Linked DNA regions of Homo sapiens: regions 2 and 3 are each linked to region 1. Evidence: promoter capture Hi-C in 16 types of primary human blood cells and fetal thymus (Javierre and others, 2016). All regions are on one chromosome and are shown on one strand. Each heading gives the region's core, a stretch centred on a gene start or on the middle of the fragment in contact. The rest is flanking DNA. Distances are from core to core; before and after follow the strand shown. Region 1 holds the start of MYLK4 (myosin light chain kinase family member 4). Region 2 has its middle 48 kb from the start of FOXCUT. Region 3 has its middle 6.0 kb from the start of FOXC1.

Region 1 (2,681 bases), core at 95-2,594:
CTCTGAACTACCTTTGCACCTTTTCTGTAGATGTAAAACTACTCTAAAAGGAAAAGTTTATTACAAAAAAATAAGCTAAGGAGCAGATTCTCCTGGCCTCTGGCTCACTCAAGCCTGTGGTTGGTTTGCTGGAGCCAACGAGATAGGAAGTCTGCTTTTGCGTGGTGGTGGTCCGGGTGGAGGATGTGGTTGGATCAGCAGCAGCCCACACACATCTTGCCTCTGGCAGGGCATTTGTTGCCTTATCAGTACTTCTACACAATTTAATTATACTAACAAAATTGGTAACCTCAAACCAGCTTAGTCTTTGTATAATACTTTTGTCAGATAATTTATCTCCACAAATTTATAGTTCCACTTCATTACTTTTGCTGAAGAACAAAGCTCTCCAATCTGAAAAATAACAAGCGTTTTGTGTTTTAAAAAAGATTTTGCTGTAATTCATTAATACTACATAAAATGGAAAAATATGTATTTTTATTTCACATGGAATGCATCGATCTGAATTAAAAATAAGGTTTTTTTTTTAAAAGAAGCAGAAGAGCAGCAGAGGCTGGTGTTAGAATGGGGCATAGAGGGGCTAACACAGGCTCCAAATAAGAGGTGACAATTGGCCAGGCCCTGAAAAATTGCAGGGTTTTCAAGACTGCAAAGTCCAGCCTCTGGGCAATCAAAGTTTTATGCCACTTCAGTGAATCTAGGGATGCACTACTGTGAGAGTCGGGCAGGTGGGTTGAAATTCCCCTTTCTTGGTCTGTGCAGAAAACTACGGATGAAGTCCTAGTGTTGCTTAAGGAGAATTTATGAAAAATTTATTCCTGTTTCCTGGATGCCTGTGCCTTTGACCTTTCCCTAGAGCTAGAAATGGTTGGAGACTTTGCAAACATCTTTAAGAACTGAGAAAAATAAAACAAACTTGCTAACTGCTTTCAGAAGATCTTCTATATTGCAGTTGGATATGCTCAAAGCGTAAGATGGGCAAACAGAGGTGGCTGTGGGGTTGCCACACCTGGCATTTTCCCTACTGGGGGAAATTTAATGAGCACTTAAATAATCCTGAGTCTGAAAGGGGCAGAAGGTCCAGGCAGATGATTGCCGAGGACAAATCTAGCTTTGTAAATCCGAGAGTATTGACACAATGATACGAGGGAAAGGTGAAGGTGATATTTCATCCAGTGTTCCCGGTTCATCCTCTCCTTACCTGACCTCTGAAATGGAGCCATTGGCCTTGAAAAGCCTGGTGTCTAAAATTAATATTCTTCCCCATCTGACTAAGAAGGCAACAGCTGAGCAACGTGAGATCAAGAGCCATATTAATTTAAACAGGGGCTGAAAGTGGCATTTGAGAGAGAAGATACTTCCTCTCGTAGTGGACACTTGTCTTTTCAGAAGATTTATACGACTGAGAGTCAAAACTTTTACCAGAGACTTTCATAGTCAGTTTGAATTCTGCAAAATTTCTCTTTATCTTCTGGAATGTATGCTCTAGACTTGGAGTGGCTCAAGCTCTTCGATGTGATCCTATCAATGGTAATTATCTTTGTTTATTGTTATAACCTCTCAAATCTCCTCCCCTTTTTTCTAAGTTACCTTCAATAACAAATTGTACCAAACTTCAGGTAGAGCTTAATGTTTAATATTTCTTTGCAAAATTATTGTATCTTAATCCTAAGCTTTTGTTTTAATACATTAATTTTGTGTGGCTTCCTGATCCAACTTGAGTTTCATCTGCAATTAACCATAGTATTTTAGTCGTAGTTTGCCTTAGAAATAGCCATGCATTTGTTTCCTTATTTTAATAATTTTTTCAGGGCAATTTGAAAGAATGCTAAGAATGATCTGTAATATATCTGTAGAGCTCTGGTTGATAGTATTAATATTTGCATTTTTATTTGTTTGAATGTAAGCTCTTTATGTGGATAAGTATAATTTGTTAGAGCAGTGAATTTTAAACACTTTGGAACTCAAGAGTATCATTTTACTATAGGAACTGACAAAACAAAATATTAAGTTTTCTGATGAGAATCACAATACGGTTTTTAAGCGGAGAAAATGCTCGAAGAGGCGCTTTTCGGAAAATCTCCACCAGGGGGCCTCAGTTGTCAGCCATGCGGAACTAGCACAAATTCAAATGTCTCTCCCTCTCCCTGCCTCTCTATGCAATCAAGTGATGTGTACATATAGACATGCGTATATGTCTCTAGTATCAAAGCGAATTATGTATGCTGCATTACTTCATTTGCGAGGAAAGTATTTTAAGGAGAGTGAAAAGACTCTGAACTTCTCGGTACATAGCTGTTAATGCAGATGCAAGGAAAGGTATCTGGGAGTGCTGTCCACGTGAGAAGACTGTAAGGAAATAAATTTCTTTTCACAAATAAACACCACACATTTTAAGGCATAGGTAGAGAAGAGTTCTGGAAAAGGACTCATTCGGGAGCGATCCCTCTGCAGAGGGAGGCCAGGGGAAGCAGAGAGACCCCTTCTGTGATAAGCCCTTCCCACGGGGCTGCAAAACCTGCGGTTCCAATTAAACCCAAAGATACTTTATAATTTACATCCAAGCTGGCCACTTGATCTACGGCTTGTTTTGTGCAATAAGGAGCATATTTCATCACCAGTGAATCTTGACATTGCTTCTTACTGTTTGCTTTTGTAGTTTTAAAGTGAAAAAATTTTTT
Region 2 (2,681 bases), core at 118-2,617, 1.2 Mb after region 1:
TGTTCTTGCATTGCTATGAATAAAGAAAAGATGTTTAATTGGCTCATGGTTCTGCAGGCTGCAGAGGAAGATACACAGGTATCTGCTTCTGGGGAGGCCTCAGGAAGCTTCCAGTCATGGTAGAAGGTAAAGAGGGAGCAGATGTCTCACACGGTGGGAGCAGGAGCAGGGGGCGGGGAGGTGCCACACGCACTTTTAAACGACCGGATCTTGAGAGAACTCACTCACCGTCACGAGAATAGCACCAAAGGAATGGTGCTAAACCACGCATGAGATATCCTCTCCCGTGACTCAGGCCCCACCTCCAACAATGAGGATCACATTTCAACATGAGATTTGGGCGGGGACACAGATCCAAACCACCCAAACAGAGGCAATAAAGACTACCTAGTCTAACTGTCTTGACGCTGCCTGAACCCCCTTGGTGGAATGACAATTACATAAAAGCCTGAACTCATTCATTCTCCCACTCTCTTAAACTTATTATTCTTTCAAAGTTTAGTTTATTTGTTTGTTTGTTTGTTTGAGTAAACTATCATGGTGGAGAAAAGAAAGCTTAATTTCCTTGGGAACACTGTCTTGGAATGGGAAATCTTTTTGTTATATGGCATTGTAAAGCTTAAATCTTTCACATGTAAAAATTATGTAGCCCTCGTTTTTCATTTTCAGGGGAAGCATAAAGACTTCATGATCCATTTAGACTTAATTTAACCTGACATAAATAAATGCTGAAATGTTTCATTATGAGTTAAGTTGAAATATAGTCTAAATTTATTTTTTATATTCATTAATTTTAATTTTAATTTTTTTTGTTGTTGTTTTTGAGACAGAGTCTTGCTCTGTCGCCCAGGCTGGAGTGCAGTGGTGTGATCTTGGCTCATTGCAACCTCTGCCTCCTGGGTTCAAGCAATTCTCCTGCCTCAGCCTCCTGAGTAGTTGGGATTACGGGCGTGCACCATCACACCTGGCTAATTTTTGTATTTTTAGTAGATACAGGGTTTCCCATGTTGGCCAAGCTGGTCTCGAACTCCTGACCTCAAGTGCTCCGCCCACCTCTGCCTCCCAAAGTGCTGGGATTACAGGTGAGCCACCGCACCTGGCCTATAGTCTCAATTGATAAGTTAATTGTAAAACTCTGGGAATAACTCACTGTAGAAAGGTCTTCAGTATGAACTAAATTTTAAAAACTCTTTTATCTGAGCACATTGGTGTTATTTGGCTTTGCAACCATCATTCTTATTTCTCATTTACTGACTGTCGATTACATACAGGTCTAAGGGAAGAATAATGTGCCTGATTAATTAATTAAAGGCAGTTATTAAAAGAAAACAATATAATGCCAAGCATAATGGTGCCGGGTTGGACCCCTGGGCTCCTTTACCTCGGGCCCAGTAACTATCATCTATAAGCCTCAGTGTACTCAGGTGGAAAATGGAGGCAATTTCAGTCCCTACCTTCCACAAAGCTGTGAGAGATTCCATGTAATAATACATTCCTGGCACATAGAATATGCTCTACATGTACTAGCTCTTATTCATTCCTGGGATCCCTGTGTGTATTATAACGATAATATGGGCTGGGTATGGTGGCTCATGCCTGTAATTCCAGGACTTTGGGAGGCCAAGGCAAGAGGATAGCTTGAGATCAGGAGGTTGAGGCTGCAGTGAGCTAGGATTGATGCCACTGCACTCCGGCCTGGGCAACAGAGTGAGACCCTGCCACAAACAAACAAACAAACAAACAAACAAACAATCAAACAAAAAAAAGATAATACAGGCACCATGCAGCAGCTATAGAGAATGTGGAAGACACGGCCCAGGCTTCTGGTTATCATCTGAGTTGAAGAGCAAGAGCTCACTCTGCACGGCACTTGCTATGTCTGAGGTCATGTGTGACGAGGTGAGAAACTGCGTCCTGAGCGGCCTCCAGCACCAATCAGCCACACCAAGCCTGCAAGTCCCTGAAAGGAGACTTTTGTTTAAAATGAAATTCCACATGTTTCAGGGCAGGAAATTGAAATAGTGTCTCTGAAAATGATGAAAAGAAGGGATTTTAAACATGCACATATGTACATACTTTAGGTAGCAGTAAAGATACTTTTAGTCACAGAAGCTTACCAAATTTTAAGGACTGCAACATTTTTTAAAGGAGGATACCAAAAATGTGTCTGGACCTCTCCCTTTAAGTAAACGTAATTGGGAGCACCTCTTCTGGCTGAATGTGACCTTCGCATACAATTTTGTTTGCCTTTCCAACGGTTCTCAGCGTTTGTCTTTCTTAACTGCAGGAGGAGTAGGAAGCTATTGTCATTCTAGATGCCCATCGTTTGTTTTTCCAACGTCTTGTAAGAGAGAATATACTTCAGGATGGTTAATACTTACGATGTTCCCGGTTTGTAGGCTCCATCAGCTTTGCCATGTAGGTGGGGACTTCTTTTGGGAATTCTCAACATTGACCCAGTGGCCAATAATAGATATGCTGAGCATGTCTACAAATGCAGCTTTTATCATTTATGGCCAGAATATGTTTACGTTCTTTTAATATCTGGTTGATTCCTAGTGAAAAGCATTTTATGCATATGTGAATGCAAAACATAACAAAAAAGTGTATAATGCAATCCACTCATTAAAAGAAAGCCCAGCTGAAGTAAGAACAGGAACAGGTCTATGTCCTTGGCAAGT
Region 3 (2,681 bases), core at 94-2,593, 1.1 Mb after region 1:
TTAGGGCCCCATGGCAAATCTCAGTGGGTTTCTCTTCCTGCCTAAGTGGACGTTGTCAGAATAAATTAAACTTCCCTGTCGGGAGCTCTCCTGAGCTCCCCCCTCAGATGGGTGGGGGGAAGACTGACACAGTCTCTTGGTCCTACACCCCAATCTCTCTGCTTGGCTGAAGAATGGCTGCCCGCACACAATCATATTCTGTCCTGCCTGGCCAGCTTTATGACTTGGCCACCATCAATCTTGCCCCTAACACGACATTTGTTTATGACGGGTGGGAAGGGCTAATGGCTTCATGAACTGTCCATGAAATGCCTGTAGTGGAGAAGGCCCTGCAATACCAGGCAGGCCCAAGGAGCAGGGGACTCGGAGCTAAGCTCTGAAGCAAATGGCCGGGGTTGGGGGAGGGGGGGGTGGCCTCGCAAATGAGAGCCCCTCTCACAGAGCTCTCAGAGGTGGGGCAGGAGTAGAGGGAAACTGTCACTCCAACTGGCCTTGCTTTGGGTGCCACTAACAGCCTCAGAGAACACTGGTGTGGGTGCCTGAGGCCTGATCAAGTATGGATACCTCTTGTCCCTCCTGGGCAATCTGTCCAGGCAGCCTCCACCTGCAGAGGGTTCAGAGTCTCTTGGGTTTTGCACCATTAAGAACAAAACTAATGACATTCCGCCTTAGAAACGGAGACCCCTGCCCTATGTCCTTTCCTCGCCTATCAAAGTTAGGGAGAGCCCAATAGGACTATAAGGCACTCTTGTTTCCTGACCCTTGTTTCTGACCCGGCAGGAAACAGCCAGGAGCTTACAGGCCACCAGTACAATCGAGCCCTATTCCTTTGCAAGCATCGATTATTAATGACACAAATTTTGTGGAATAATAAATTGTAAAATGCATGCTTGTTTGCACTCAGTCTGGAGAAAAAGGTCTGCTAACTACACAACCCTGGAGAAGTCAGCACCGGTCCCTCCCACACGTGCAACATGCCAAATGCAAGACTGCCTATGGCATGTGGCATGCTGGCATTTGTGTAGTCGTGGCATAAATTGCTATTAAAATAAATGTGCCCATTTCTGCATAAAGGACAAAATACTTACTCTCCTAAAGCTTTTTACAGAGGCTATTTTAAAAATTAGCTGATTCCCCGCCATGGATCTGGACTGCTGTCACAGGCTAATTTCAAAATGTACTGGCTATTAGTTAAACTATCAAGGAGTTTTTCTTAGAATATTTCACAGGAAAATTATCCTTATTCCTAAAACAGTACAAACCAAACGTGCAAACCTCTAAGGAATAAGTAGTGCCACGTTAAATAAGGTTGGCAGAAGTTGGTTTTCTTAAATCGGGTGTGAGAATCGAAAAGGTAATGTACTGATAGTAGGAGACATTACCTAGATGTGGTTTTTAAAATCCGAATAATGAGCAGAACTTCTCTCCTTCCACTCAACATAGCTTCTAAACTTGCACAGGCAACGAGTGCAGAAATGACTACGTCATGTATGTTTAACACAAACACCTTCTTAGACACATGTGTGTTTCATGCCTAATTTTCAAACATTCGAATAGAAGAGGGTAAAGCAAGTTGCTAAGAAGCTTTGCTCGCGCACGCCTATAAACACTCTCGACCTGTGGGCCAGGGGCTCCTCGCTGGCCACGGAAACCGAAGCACCGCGCTTCGCCCCGTACCCGCTTCCTCTCCTGCAGCTGGGACTGGAGCCCCGCAAGGAAGGACAGGGGCTGCTCTCGGCCCACTCCTCGGCAGGCCAGACTCGGCAGGGCCCCCAGCCGGGAGCGGGTCGACTCTTTCCCAGCTCGCTCCCGCCGCTGGGAACGGTGCAGAAAAGCCCGCCGAGCTTTCCACTGCCGACCTGGGCCTAGGCCGGGGCTGACTGCGGCCGCCACCTCCTCCGGGCCGCAAAGCCGAGACCCAAGGAGAGTGGAGAGTCGCAGGCACGTGGGCTCGGAACACGCTGAGCCTGCAGCTCGCCCGAGGGCTTCTGGCATCCTTGAGGCCGAGCGACTCCCCGCACGGCCACTGCCAAGCGACTGGTGGCCTCTGCAAACCTCACACACCGCGCGAGGACGCAGCCCTGCCGGGGAGGCCGCCTGGGGCCGCAGCGCCGGCCCGGGCAGGTCTGGTGCGGCCAGGCCGAGGCGGGTGGGCCGGGGGTGGCCCTGCAAACGCGCAGCTCCGGGTCCCGCGCCTGGAGGCTGCGGGCCGGCGCGGGGCGAGCTGTCACCCGTGAGCAATGAAGTGCCTCTGACCTTTCCACCCCAGCTGCGCTCCTAAACACACGTGCGTCTTCACAACAAAGGAGGCCAGCGAGGAGGAAGTGAGAGCTCGGCGGGGCCCTGCGGCGCCAGGCGGAGACGCGGGGTGACCGGGCGAGGGAGCGGGCTCCTCCGAGCTTCTCGGCCGGAGCCCCGAGGGCGCTTCTCCCGGCTCGGCGCCCCCCGCCCCGTCCCCGTCCCCGGCACCGCGCGCCTGCCACCCTCCCTCAGCGCGCGCTTCCCGGCACCCCGACCCAGCCCGCGAGGAACCCAGCGAAACTAACAGGGGTCTCCCTTTGACTCGCTTTTCTCCAACGACTAATTTCAGGAGGAGGCCGCGGAGGCCGGGGCTAATCTGGGGAGGGGGGTGTGGGGAGGAAGGAGCTCCAAACGCAAACCGAAGCCGGGCCCCGCGCCGC

Evidence for each region. Contacts are between HindIII fragments. The CHiCAGO score rates a contact against its expected background, and 5 or more counts as called.
Region 2: a contact is called between a fragment that was not itself captured here and the fragment with the promoter of MYLK4 in region 1, in 2 of 17 cell types (total CD4 T cells and non-activated CD4 T cells). The highest score is 6.8, in total CD4 T cells.
Region 3: a fragment that was not itself captured here is called in contact with the fragment with the promoter of MYLK4 in region 1 in 6 of 17 cell types (naive B cells, M1 macrophages, total B cells and 3 more); the score reaches 9.4 in naive B cells.

What each region holds. Positions count from the first base shown.
Region 1 is chr6:2,749,585-2,752,265 of GRCh38, reverse strand. It overlaps MYLK4 (myosin light chain kinase family member 4), which reads left to right and starts at 1,344. Exons shown (of 13, transcript NM_001012418.5): 1 at 1,344-1,530. The HindIII fragment of the contact is 6,360 bases long and covers 1-1,675 here.
Region 2 is chr6:1,556,160-1,558,840 of GRCh38, reverse strand. No RefSeq gene overlaps it. Among named protein-coding and RNA genes, the nearest start is that of FOXCUT, 48 kb to the left of the region's middle. The HindIII fragment of the contact is 1,494 bases long and covers 621-2,114 here.
Region 3 is chr6:1,614,542-1,617,222 of GRCh38, reverse strand. No RefSeq gene overlaps it. Among named protein-coding and RNA genes, the nearest start is that of FOXC1, 6.0 kb to the right of the region's middle. RefSeq lists an enhancer at 2,362-2,681. The HindIII fragment of the contact is 486 bases long and covers 1,101-1,586 here.